Regions from separate parts of the Homo sapiens genome. Here all the other regions are linked to region 4. The links are contacts of gene promoters, found by promoter capture Hi-C in blood cells and fetal thymus (Javierre and others, 2016). All regions are on one chromosome and are shown on one strand. Each heading gives the region's core, a stretch centred on a gene start or on the middle of the fragment in contact. The rest is flanking DNA. Distances are from core to core; before and after follow the strand shown. Region 1 overlaps BBS9 (Bardet-Biedl syndrome 9). Region 2 overlaps BBS9 (Bardet-Biedl syndrome 9). Region 3 overlaps BBS9 (Bardet-Biedl syndrome 9). Region 4 holds the start of BMPER (BMP binding endothelial regulator).

Region 1 (3,195 bases), core at 122-2,621, 490 kb after region 4:
ATGTGCTGGCTGCCTCCTTCTCAGTCTCCTCTGGGAAGCTGGGTTCTTCTTCAGTTTGGTTTTTGGTTTTTTGTTTGTTTTCGTTTTTTGTTTTGTTTTGTTTTGTTTTGAGAGGGAGTTTTGCTTTTATTGTCCAGGCTGGAGTGCAATGGCGCATTATCAGCTCACCGCAACCTCTGACTCCCAGGTTCAAGAGATTCTCCTGCCTCAGCCTCCTGAGTAGCTGGGATTACAGGCATGCACCACCATGCCCGGCTAATTTTTTTGTATTTTTAGTAGAAATGGGGTTTTTCCATGTTGGTCAGGCTGGTCTCAAACTCCTGACCTCAGGTGATCTGCCTGCCTCGGCCTCCCAAAATGCTGGGATTACAGGCGTGAGCCACTGCGCCCGGCCTGGTCTGGCTTTAATTCACTATAAACAAGGGGCCAATAGCCAGTCCCTGTCTTTAGCTCCTCATATCCACATTCTGTTTTTTTTTTACACGCAACTGTTGGCTCTCTCCAGCTGTGCTAGGTGGTCTTGTAAGACAAGACCATGAAGGAAGGCACATTCTGTTGGCAAACCCCATAAGATGCTCTGAAAACAGTGATATTGATGTACTTACTAATGAAGACAGTGTGAGGGAATACTTAAAGAATCGCCTGCACATTTTCTATGCCGCATCAACTCATAAAATTAGTAATAATCAGCTAATTTATATTAAGGCCTTAAAATACTCCTATTCTTTGACTTTGTAATTACCATTGTAGAAACCTATCTTAAGAAAATAATCTTTATTTAAAAAGAATAGTCAAAAGAAAAAATTAAACTCAGCCTGTCTTAATAAAGGAATGTTAATTAAATTATCATTCATGGTCCCAGTGGTTTCTCCACCTAAATAAAACTGATAGTTAAAACAGCTGACAGTAGGAGTGAGACTGCAAGGATTTTTAGATACTGAGAGTTGTAGGAATGCCTGCTTCTCCACCTTTACTATTGAAACTGTATTTTCTCTGAGTCAGTTCTTGATTGAAGGCTATCAGAACTACCATCTAACTCATTACCCAGTGTTAACTAAGAGGAGTCCAGAAAAATTAACTCATAGTAAAAAATGACTCTTTTTCTAGGTCGTGAGTATCCAATTGTTCCATAACATTCCCTACTAAACTATATCAAACATTGTAGTCAACAGCTTTCAAAATTTTACATAAAATCATTTTTTATTTTAAGAATAAAAGGCTAACTCAAGGAAGAATGGTATCAAGCTAGAAAGCAAAATTTGAAAAGATGAAGTACTTTATAATGTCACTTCTAGTCCTATGATTCAGGCTCATGAAAAACATGCTTTAAAAAGAACTGTATACCTAATTGGGATATAGCAAGTAATTTACCTCAAATGATATAAGCGTAAACTTTCAAAGGTTTGCAACTTAACACCAGAAAGATGATGAGACCTATTCTTCTTCCAAGATGACAATTGCTTTTTAAGCAAAAAAGGATCTTAAAAATTCCATAGTGACAAAACTGGGAGTCCCAAAACAACTTGATAGTTAAAACACAGTCAAAGCAAAGGAGTACTTTCCACAGCAGCTGCAATGACTGCTGAACTCCAGGAATAGGAATGATAAGCATAGGCATGCAAGTTGTAAAGTGCATATCTCATTAGCAAAATAATTTCCTGGTCCCAGGGAAATTACTGGCAGAAACAGAAGGCATACCTTCAGAAACTCACTGAAGAAATGCCAGTTGCCCTTGGGACAGGACCAGAGAGCTCAACAAATGTGTACTGAGCACCTAGAATGCATCACACCAGGCTCTATGTTAAGCACTGTGGCACAGGAGTGAACGTTAGGTCTGGCAGTTAGTCCTACTCTGGAGATGAACTAAAAACAGACTGAAAATCCAATTCAACTAAATTGTGCAGTATTTACCTGCTAAATAGTTTGACGTCTTGGAAGAAAAAATGACATAGAAGCATGGCTATGAATTTTTTTCTAACAAAATGGGTTCTATTACAAAAATACATTAGAATAATCTATTGTTGAGCTATACAGTTCCTATTAGTCACTAGTGATTTCAACCAAAATGATTTTCACATAATACATTTTAGTTTAAAAAAAAAGTATGATGCATCTGCTCATATTTCACTTAAGCACCATTTTATTTTTTCAGATATTTAAATAATCATCCTCAATGGTAAATGACTACCATAAGGAGTAACATTTGTCCATGCTTATAATTATTATCTGTATAAAACATCGTGCTCCTTGAGGCTATACACCATATTATAAACATCTTTATATACCTCCTCTAATCATAAAGACCCCTACACAGAGTAGCTGCTTGATAAATATTTGATAGCACAATCCTTTAAATTGAATCTCTTAATCCCTAAATTTTAATGATCAAATAATATTCATTCTAAGAGGTTTTTTCCCTAGTATCCCCAAATATTCTTACATATTACATTGAACATTTGTAGACTGAATAACACTTTTAAGACTCAAAACTACCATAAAATGTATTTCCTAGGATGAATCAATAGAAGTTTAATTAAGTACATATATAAGTTTATATAAAAAGCAATAAAAATACACAATTTTTGCGTTGTTTCTTGAAATCTGATCAAAATCTAAGTTTAAATTTACATGTATAGGAAAAAGGAATAAATGTGGTTTACTTCAAGAAGACAGTCTTGCAAAGTTTTTAAAATAGCTCCACAAAACACAAAGATTGCATCTGTATTGAGTGTGTTTAACAATAGGTTTGTGGACAAGCAAGAGTGTTGAAACCTTGTCAAGAAATATTTTAATATTAAAAAACTATGTCAACCCTTGTTCTACTCATGACTGAACTTGATACAATCAAGAAAAATTAGTTTCGGATGTGGGATACTTCAGGGATTTGAAGTAGTTTGCTAAATAGGAAGCTAAATCCAATTACTTTTATGAAGATTTGGCATCTGCAACTGAAAACCAACATTCCAATTAACATTAGACAAATATCCAAGCTTATCCACATGTTCCAGGCATCCTTTCCGGCTAAAAGAAGGCTGCATTTCTGCATATAATTATTCCCGTATGCATATACAGGGTCTGCACTATATTGGAGATATATAAAGCAAAAAAAAAAAAAAAAAAAACACCAACATTTTAAGTTCTTCTGTGGTCTGTGGCCAAGATTATATATATATATATATTAGACGGATACATGAA
Region 2 (3,035 bases), core at 232-2,731, 430 kb after region 4:
GTAGAGGTTGGATCCAGGAACTAGATCAATACCCAGCCAAGTCACCATGAAGAAGAGTTCTTGGGATGAATCATTTTATTACATATTTGACCAAGTGGAAAAGCAATTTGTTCTGTGATTATGGTCACTGACACTGTTGACAATGTTTATCATGTGGCAAGTTCCACAAACAATAAAGTATACGTGTTCACTACAGGAAAAAAGTAAGGGTGGTTGAGAGAGTGGGGGTAATGCTACCGTATGTTAGGATCCAAGAACTACAAGATAAAAAGAAGCCATTTGGCCCAAATAGCTTACACAATTAAATATGCCATTAATTTCAACTATAAACTCTGCTTGTCGATGTATTCTACAATTACCTCTTTGCTAAAGAATCTCTCAAGCAGTTAACTAATGCCAGGCCTGCTAGGGACAGCCTGTCTATAAACACTACCTAACCTCCATGTTATCTACCATCATGCCCTCATCTAATTAGATCTGAGCAGTCACCCGGCTTCAAGCTTACTTATTACATTTGGCCCATTTACTAGAATTAGATACAGAATCTTCTCTGAGAGATATTTTCTCAAGTATTGCATAAGAAATCAGTGCTACATATTTTTCTGGAAAATGATCCTCCTTATGAATTTTGCTTTGCTATTATCCACTATAATATCAAAAAACAAATAAAATCCTCCATGATCAAGGTCTAGGCCTTTATCCAAGATTCTCATTTGCTCCTCATCTACTTCTTTTCCCTCAGAACTTAATAAACTTACCTGGACATCTTCACAGTGCTTTAGATATGCCTATTGCCTCTGAAGAAATAAAAATATCATTTCTCTGCAAGAGTCACTATTTATCCTTGAGCAATCACTCCTACACCCTCTGGCTTACTTCGCTAGTTCTCAGTCAGAGCCTACAGAAAGATTAGATGAATAAATGTTCCTCTAGAAGTTTCTCTGTCAGTCAAAAGGTCCTAAGAGGAAAGTGGGGTTTTTTTTGCCCTAAGAAATGACTAGGAGAACAATCCCTAGTGAGTAATTTTAGGCACTTGTGGTCAGAGGCAATCTGGCCTGAAGAAATCCTCAGCCTGAGCCACCATTACCAGTCTGCTCTACCAGCTGTGCGGAACCCTGGCTTCCCATAAAATCAACTTCAGTGACCTGGTGGCAGTTCATGGTTTTGAAAATTCCACTTTAAATGGAAATTTTCAAAAATGGTTCTGTTGCTCTGGTTTGCTGACAACCAACCTTTACAAATTTGGCAAGAACCCTCTGTTGCCCAGCTGCCTCTGATTTACTGTCCCTGGGCACAGTCTCCAGCGTGGCTGTTGGGCTCTATACAGCTAACACTGCCATTGCCTCTGGCAATGTGGTGTGGTGGAAAGCACAGTGGACAGCTAAGGAGACCTGGGATCAGTCCTGCTTCTGTCACTAATGAGAATGCCCTTCTAGATCTTAGTTTCTGCATTTCTAAGCTCCCTTCTAGGTCTAGTCATACTGTTGTTCCACCTGCAGTTATGAGCACCTACTATGGACTATACGTGTAGCAAGGGATACAAGTCACAAACCCCAGCCTCAGGGAGTTCTAATGATACTCTGACTCTATGAACAGCCAACTTGCCATTTTTTATGCTAAGACAAGAAATACTAATGAATGATAAAGCCAAAATCAATTCCAACATCTCATTTTGGCCAACTCTTTTTAAACTTCACCAACTTCTTTACAAACAAATAGGTAACAATTTTAGAATAAATGAAAGACCATCACTTGCAGCATTTCTTCCCCCATCCCACTATGACTGTACATTTAAAAATCAAGTAAAAGGAGGATGAAACAGGAGAAACAGCTTGGATAAGTCAGCAATTAGATAACTAGCCACTGGAACAACCAAGAGTTACCCAAGTTGATGCTGAAGGAAAACATACTTTTTAGTGATACCAGCTAAAAGTGTCAGATTATTCCACATGTGAAGATGTCACATTGAAGACTGGTTAATGAATAATCCGCAGGAAAATGAACCTGTATCAGTATGTGGCACGATGGCATTATAGAATCTACTATGTATCAGCAGTATCTATTTCTCAGCCGTTTTCTATCCCTCCCATCTTTTGAAAAGCCTACTCAAAACTCATCATCTATCCTCTAACCCCAGGACACCCCCCTGAATGAGTGTCCTTCAGGATGTCCATTTAGCTGCCCAGGTCTCCACAGAACACAGCTGGCCCAAGGATTCTCTTACATTATTCATGTGTTGCTTTGTGAACTTGTGTGTGATTGTTCTTCTACAGTGGACTTTAAATCCTCCAGAGGTAGTATATTATAACCCACGGTGAGCAGGCACTAAGTATTTTCTGCCTCCCTGGCTTTGCATCTTCTAAAGTCTATTATGCTAAGATATAAATCCAGTACAGCTTTGAAAATAGAGAATTCATCACTGATCGTTGGCATCGTACATATCAATAGAGGAACAAAGCTTGCTATTTTCACGGAAAATTGGAGGATAATCTACAAGAGAACAATAAATAGGGGTGGTAAAAAAGTGAAGGGGTAGAAATGGAATCTACGTTAGAAGATTAGGGAGAGAAGCTGAATAGCAATAGAAAAAAATATATATTTTAGAAGGTCCAGAAGTGATTTTTTTAAAAAATAAAAAACCTAGATTCTAGCTTCCCCTATAATTGAGTGACCTGTATCAAATCATTTTATCTGAGAAAAAAAAAGAATGCTGGTGTTCAATGTTTACAAAAATCTAGGAAACTAATATGAAAATAAATGTAAAAATCTGGAAAAAATATTCTTGTAATTCTATATTGTTATGAAAAGGCAAAGTAGTACCACAGTTGGATTTAGTACAATAAGCACTTCTTGAGGACCTGCCATGACCCCAGGCATTGTAGTAAGTCCTCAATTCCAAAGATGAGCAAGACATGGCCTCTACCCTCGAAGAGCTTACATTCTAGTTCCAAGCCCAACAAAGGCTTTCTCAGAACAAATTCAATTTAACACAGCAACATCTGCTATTAATAGTTATAGTAATTAAAATAAAGAAA
Region 3 (3,153 bases), core at 470-2,969, 470 kb after region 4:
AGACAATAGCATTTCTCCCAAATTAATATAGTAAAATGGAATTCTTTAAAACTCAGAGAAATCCATTTGATACATGCAAAAAGTAGTAAGAGCTCACATAATCACTAAAAAATCACAATACCCCATGAGATAATTCTTGCAAGAAATAAACTGATTCCAAAAGGAGAGAGCAAATATAGGAATAGCAGGGCCATGTGAGCAGCAGTAAGAAAAGGTGAGATAGTCCTTCCCAGCTGGCCCAGGGAAAAAAACTAGGGCCCGGCCTAGCATGTCACTCAGACCTGAGCTGGCCCCAGGCTTTAGGGCTGAAGGGTCCATAAAGCTTGACCAAGAATACAGGCATTTTTGGCTGTTTGTAAATCAGCCCAAAGCTTGAACACTCTGTGTTCACTCTTGGTGACTTACCTACCAAAGCACTGGTAAAGTGATAAAAATCCTGTGGGTACCTACCAATTATGATAAACTAAGGTTGTAAGAGACTCCTTCATCAGCTTTAGTCATGATAACTTGCTGAACTAACTGTTCCAATGGAAGAAGAGAATAGCAGCATATGAGAACATTCGCCAGCTTTGTGAAATGAATATCCTGTGTTCTTTCTTTCTCAGCATTGTGTTTTTGAGACTGCGTTAAATATTAGCATGTATATAGCCCAAGTTCTTTCATTTAACTGCTCTCCAAATACTGTATCTAATTGTGCTCCTACAAGTAGTGTATGGGAATTTGTCATTGCTCCATGTATTTGCCAACACTTCATCCTATCAGAAATTTCCCTTTTTCTTCAGTTTGATATGTATGAAATGGATTTTCCCTATGGGTTTTAATTTCTACTTCTCTGATTACTACCAAGGTTAAGCATCTTTCAATGTCTTTTGGCAGCTTACATTTTCTCCTTCAGAATTTTCTACACATATCCATTGCCTAATTTTTCTACTGGACCCGTTATTCTTAATTATGTCGGATTCTTTACATACTCCTTTCCTGGTAGAATGAATTAAAAATATCTTATCTTAATTTTGTACCTGGTTTCCTTTGTTATACAAAAGTTATATTTCAATTTAGTCAAATTTATCAATCTTTGATTTTAAAGGTTGGCTGTGCTTTTTATAACTTGCTTAGGAAGTCCTTCCCTACCCTGAGGTTAAAAATATAAGCTTCTCCCTTTTCTTTTAAAAGGTATATGTTTCCCATTTAGGCATTTAATTTACTTGAGATTTATTTTTGTTTATGGTATGAGGTAAGGATCCAATTGCATTTTTTATATATAGATAGCCAATTGGTTTAGTTCTGTGGTATTTTAAATAAAAACACCACAATATGTTCATTATGGCCCTTATCACCAGGTGTTACAATATGCTTTTCTGCATTTTGTTGACAGTGAGTTAGAATTACGAAAGAGAGCCTATGTGTTTTTCATTTCTATATTTCAAAACTTAACACCATGTCCAGCAAAAATGTTGAAAAAGTTGCAAAAGCTGTTCAAAACAGCTGTACAAAAGCTGTGGGGTTTTTATTTGTTTTGTTTTTGCAACGGAGTCTCACTCTGTTGCCCAGGCTGGAGTGCAGTGGCAGGATCTTGGCTCAGTGCAACCTCTGCCTCCCGGGTTCAAGCAATTCTCCTGCCTCGGCCTCTTGAGTAGCTGGGATTACAGGTATGCAACACAGTGTCCGGCTAATTTTTTTTTATTTTTAGTAGAGACGGAGTTTCACCATGTTGGCCAGGCTGGTCTCAAACTCCTGACCTCAGGTGATCCGCCCACCTCGGCATCCCAAAGTGCTGGGATTACAGGCATGAGGCACTGCCCAAAAACTGTTCTTAAAGATATGCTGGACATATACACAGTTATCTAAGAAGCTATGACTTCTTGTGTAGTAGTAATCTTCAATATAAATCAATCTGTATTTCCAGGTAAAGAATTTATGTGAAATTCAAAAGAATTTTCCCCTCAGAATTGGAAATGTGTCTGACAGATAACACTCTGATGCTTCTCTATATATCCATTAAAAATACCCTGGAGTTAACCTGATATAGCACTTGGCTCTATTTGATGATCACTCTCAGGTCGCTGTTTGGAAAGAAGACTGGTGTGGGAGCAGAGAGGTCAGCTGCGTGGCCTTTCACAAAGGGTGAGCCATGCTCTGACTCCAAAGAGGTTAAATGCCAAGGCAAGTTTCAGTTATCTTAACTCAATTTACCTCAATAGAAATAACCTAAATTAGATGGTTTCTAATTACCCTTCTAGACAAGGATTAAATGTCTGAGATGGGGCTAAAGCAGAGACAAGCTTGTGATGGACAGATAGATTCCAAAAGACTGGTCCAATTGACACTTAAAAGCTGTAGATGGTTTCTTTTTCCTTTATTCAATCCCTGATATTTTAAATCATATATTAAATTTCCTCACTCATGTACAAATCTCACCACCAAAGTTCATGTTAAATAAACTATGTCACAGTTACAAGTCAAGTTACACAGAAATTATCTCAGATGGCTAATGCTTTATAACTTATGTGTTTTATACAGTATTCCATGCTTAAGTAAATTCAAGATAATCTGGAAAACATTTATCTGGCATCTATTAACAATGAGAACACTTACTAACATTTAGGGATATCAGTGAAGAAGACACGTCCCCTTCCGTTAATCAGCTCACAGCTTTGTTAACAAAACAGATGTGTAGTCAAGTAATTGCAACACAGCGTTATCAATGCCATGGTCAAGGTGGATCTAAAAAGTTGATGGCAGAGAGAACAGCTTGACTTCAAAGGGAGTTACCAATGGAGGTGAGTCTTAACAAATAAATTCATTTTAAATAATTTCAACAAATTCAGAACCTTTGGTTTGAACTTGAAAAACAAAATGTTTTTATTCATTATTTCTAATATGAGTTTGAGATTATAAATAATGTAATTACAAGTATCAATTATATAATCCTTAGGAAACTAACTTTCTGAGGAATGATCACCTGAAGTTAGAAGACAGATGATTCAAAGTTGGGGCAGTGATCAAGGGGCTATTACATTAATCATTAATAATAACAAAGTAAAGATTTTAACCGATGAGCATCTTTCATCAAGTACACTACAACACACTTATTTCACAATGCAAAAACATGATCTAAGTTCACATCACCAGCAATAGCAATGGTGTATGTTT
Region 4 (2,930 bases), core at 193-2,692:
GTTATATTATCACATTTAATGGATTCACCTTATCAGAGAGAGCAGTTGAGTTCATATTACCTGATCTCCACACTTACCAAGCAGACACACATTATGCAAGGGTTGTCTGTGATAAATGGAATCTGGAGGACTTCACCTTCATTTTCACATTTTGCAACAGAACCTGAAATTCAGGGGGGAAAAATGTTTCATTTAAAGTTAGCTTAGCAGCATGATTTCAACATTTAAAATTTTTACACTAATCCTTTTTGAAACCTCTACCCAAACTTCAGAATTCTTAATGTGGTTTAAATTATTAAATTCACCAAAGCAAAACCTCTGCCCCCAACTCCATTTTCAATAATTTTATTTAAACAGGTTCAAAAAAGAAAAGACTATGATATAGGGATAAATTATCTGTTCTCAGATGGTCTAAGCACAATTCCAAGTATTTCACTGGATTTTTAATAACACTCCTCCTTTATGAAGATATTTCAACTAAGCACACAGCCCCATACGCAAAGAAAAAAATAAAAAATAAAATTTAAAAAAACCCTCAAATTGGGGCAGATTTTAAATTGACCAAAACTCAGAACTGAGTCAATAAACAGGCCTTTCTATGAATCTGTCTCGCATTGTCTTAGGTTTAAATCACTTTTTGAAACGCAATCCCCTTTTCCCTTCTCTTAGAAATTGACTCCATATTTTCTTTTCTGCACCAGGTGTCAGTAAAGTATGTCCTTCAGAATAGCAGCTGAGGTCTTCACCTGCCTGAAAACATATAATTATTATATCCGGCTATTAGTGCCCTTTTTAAATGATAGTTTCTTTAAATTCAAGGTCTTGAGAGCCAGTGCTTTAAAAAGCACTCCTAGCACAGTGGATGTATTGCAACCCCAAAGATGAGAAAGGAAGATGTGCGGAAAACTGCACAAATTTTTTTCCTGAGTTCTACAGAGGGAAAGATTAAAATAAAAGTTGAGGAAAGCATTAAAAATAAATAAAATAATTTCTCAAATTCAAATAGAAGAATGTCTATTATTACTACATTGAAGGCAACAGCCTCTCAGCCCGCAACCTCTTCACCAGCCTTCCCAGCCCTCCCGGGGCTTCGCTTCATCCCCATCGACCAGCGCAGGGCAAGCGCCAAGGTGCGCGCTCCCCACCCTCCCATCCCCGGGGCAAGCCAGCGCCACCTTTCCCAGGTACCAAACCGGCGTCCCGGAGGGCCGGTCCCTCCCGCCCCCTCCCCTACCTGTCAAGAAGGAGGAAGCCAGAGACATGGGGACCCCCGAGCAATTGAGTAGCAGCAAGACGCAGCACGTAATCCCAGGCGAGCGGCGGCAGTAACGCTCAGCCAGAGCCCCGACGCCGGAGAACCAGAGCATCGTCACCTGGAGGGAATCCCTGGCGACTGCAGGTCCCGCGCCGCCGCCTCTGCTCAGCTGCCGCAGCTCACAGTCGAAAAGGGCTCTCAGCCGGCGTGTCGGGAGACCGTCCGCGAAGGAGGGAGGCGGGCGCCCGAGAGCTGGGGGGCGGGGGGGTGTGAGGGAGGGCGGGGGGAGAGACCAAGGTGTGGGGGCGCCCGGGGAGGAGGGGTCCTGCGGCCAGGCTCCTCCGATGCGGCTTTTTTTTTTTTTTTCCTGAGGGAGTTGCTTGCAGTGGCTTAGCAGTCAGCCCCTCAGCGCCGGAGAGGGGGCCAGGAGGAAGGGGTGTTGCGGCAGCCGGAGATAGACTGAGAGGAGCTGCGGCGCTGCCGACTGCGCACTGCCGCTCAGCCGCCGCCCGGGCTGCCGCTACTGTTTCGGGGGCTGTCGCTGTCGCTGCCGCAGCGTCCTCCACTCCCGCACTCCTCACCTCCTGCCAGCCCCGCCGGCTCTCGGCCCTCCCGGAGCGCGCTCGCTCCGCCGCAACAGACGTGGGCTCACCGGGCGCCTCCCGGAACCCGCTGGGGGCGCCCGGGCGCAGGAGGGACTGCGCGATAGCTGCAGCGGGAACTCTCTCGGCCCAGCTTCCAGTTCCCCAGCCCCTCCAGGGAGGCCAGGGCCCCAGGGCGCGGACCAGAGCCGAGAAGGCGCGTCTCCACTGTCCGGGCGAGCGCGGCTCCTCCTCCCTTTCTTGGGGGAGCCCCGGGGATGCCGCAGCACTAGCGCTCAGGCCCGGGTGCCCCAATCCAGCGAGGGAGCAGCAAACGGGACGCAGGGGCGCCCCACCACCCTGCTCGCTCCCGGGTGCCCCACCTTTGGGAAGGAGCGACACACCCGGGGCAGTAGGGCCCCCGCAACTTTTCATGCCCTGCTTTGCTTCCCTCTGGCGGGGGCGCGACAGCGAACTCAGGGGGCTGAGCGGACAGAGGGGCAAGTGGCCTTAGAGATGTGTTCTGTGCTTAGCTGTCTGCGCGTCCTGACACTAGGGATGACCGAAGTTGAAACACACACAAGGTCGATTTAAAAACGTACCGAGGCAAACGCCTTTCGTCCTTAAAAAATGAACAGTCGCTCCGAGACTCCTCCCTTCCAATCTCGGGCGGACCGGGGCGGGGAGGTGGTGTTTGACTAATCATTCATTCACCCGAAAAGAGGGAGGAACCCCCGCCCCACCGCTCATCTCTGGCGGGGGCCGCCGCGCGGCGGCCTCTGCAGCTCGGAGCTCCGTCGCTCTCTCAGCCCGGCTGCGCCCTCTCGCCTCTGCAGCACTGGGTGTCGGGGAGTCAGCTCCTGTGATCCCCCTGCTGAATCGCCGCCTCCTCCCCACGCAGTGGCACCCTCTACTCAAAAGGGGTGCAATCGCAGAGAGATGATTTTTGTAACCAAAGTACGAAGGCGCGAGGTGGGAGTGAGGGACGCTTGGCAAGTGTTGGGACCTGACGATCAGCTAGCTGTCCTTGAGCTCACGGTGGACTACCGACTTCCTCTGTCCAAGAGTTGAAACCGGGTCCCCACGGAACGGAC

Evidence for each region. The method cuts DNA at HindIII sites, captures the fragments that hold promoters and counts their contacts. A CHiCAGO score of 5 or more calls a contact.
Region 1: a fragment that was not itself captured here is called in contact with the fragment with the promoter of BMPER in region 4 in 1 of 17 cell types (endothelial precursors); the score reaches 6.3 in endothelial precursors.
Region 2: a fragment that was not itself captured here is called in contact with the fragment with the promoter of BMPER in region 4 in 1 of 17 cell types (endothelial precursors); the score reaches 5.2 in endothelial precursors.
Region 3: a contact is called between a fragment that was not itself captured here and the fragment with the promoter of BMPER in region 4, in 2 of 17 cell types (endothelial precursors and megakaryocytes). The highest score is 7.8, in endothelial precursors.

Annotation. Positions count from the first base shown.
Region 1 is chr7:33,410,939-33,414,133 of GRCh38, reverse strand. All of the region lies in intron 19 of BBS9 (Bardet-Biedl syndrome 9), which reads right to left. Among named protein-coding and RNA genes, the nearest start is that of BBS9, 280 kb to the right of the region's middle. The HindIII fragment of the contact is 3,243 bases long and covers 1-2,992 here.
Region 2 is chr7:33,469,960-33,472,994 of GRCh38, reverse strand. The region is part of intron 19 of BBS9 (Bardet-Biedl syndrome 9); the gene reads right to left. Among named protein-coding and RNA genes, the nearest start is that of FLJ20712, 250 kb to the left of the region's middle. The HindIII fragment of the contact is 1,958 bases long and covers 503-2,460 here.
Region 3 is chr7:33,436,247-33,439,399 of GRCh38, reverse strand. All of the region lies in intron 19 of BBS9 (Bardet-Biedl syndrome 9), which reads right to left. Among named protein-coding and RNA genes, the nearest start is that of FLJ20712, 290 kb to the left of the region's middle. The HindIII fragment of the contact is 1,131 bases long and covers 1,154-2,284 here.
Region 4 is chr7:33,904,051-33,906,980 of GRCh38, reverse strand. It overlaps BMPER (BMP binding endothelial regulator), which reads right to left and starts at 1,442. Exons shown (of 15, transcript NM_001365308.1): 1 at 1,235-1,442; 2 at 78-163. The coding sequence starts at 1,367. The HindIII fragment of the contact is 6,002 bases long and covers 1-2,930 here.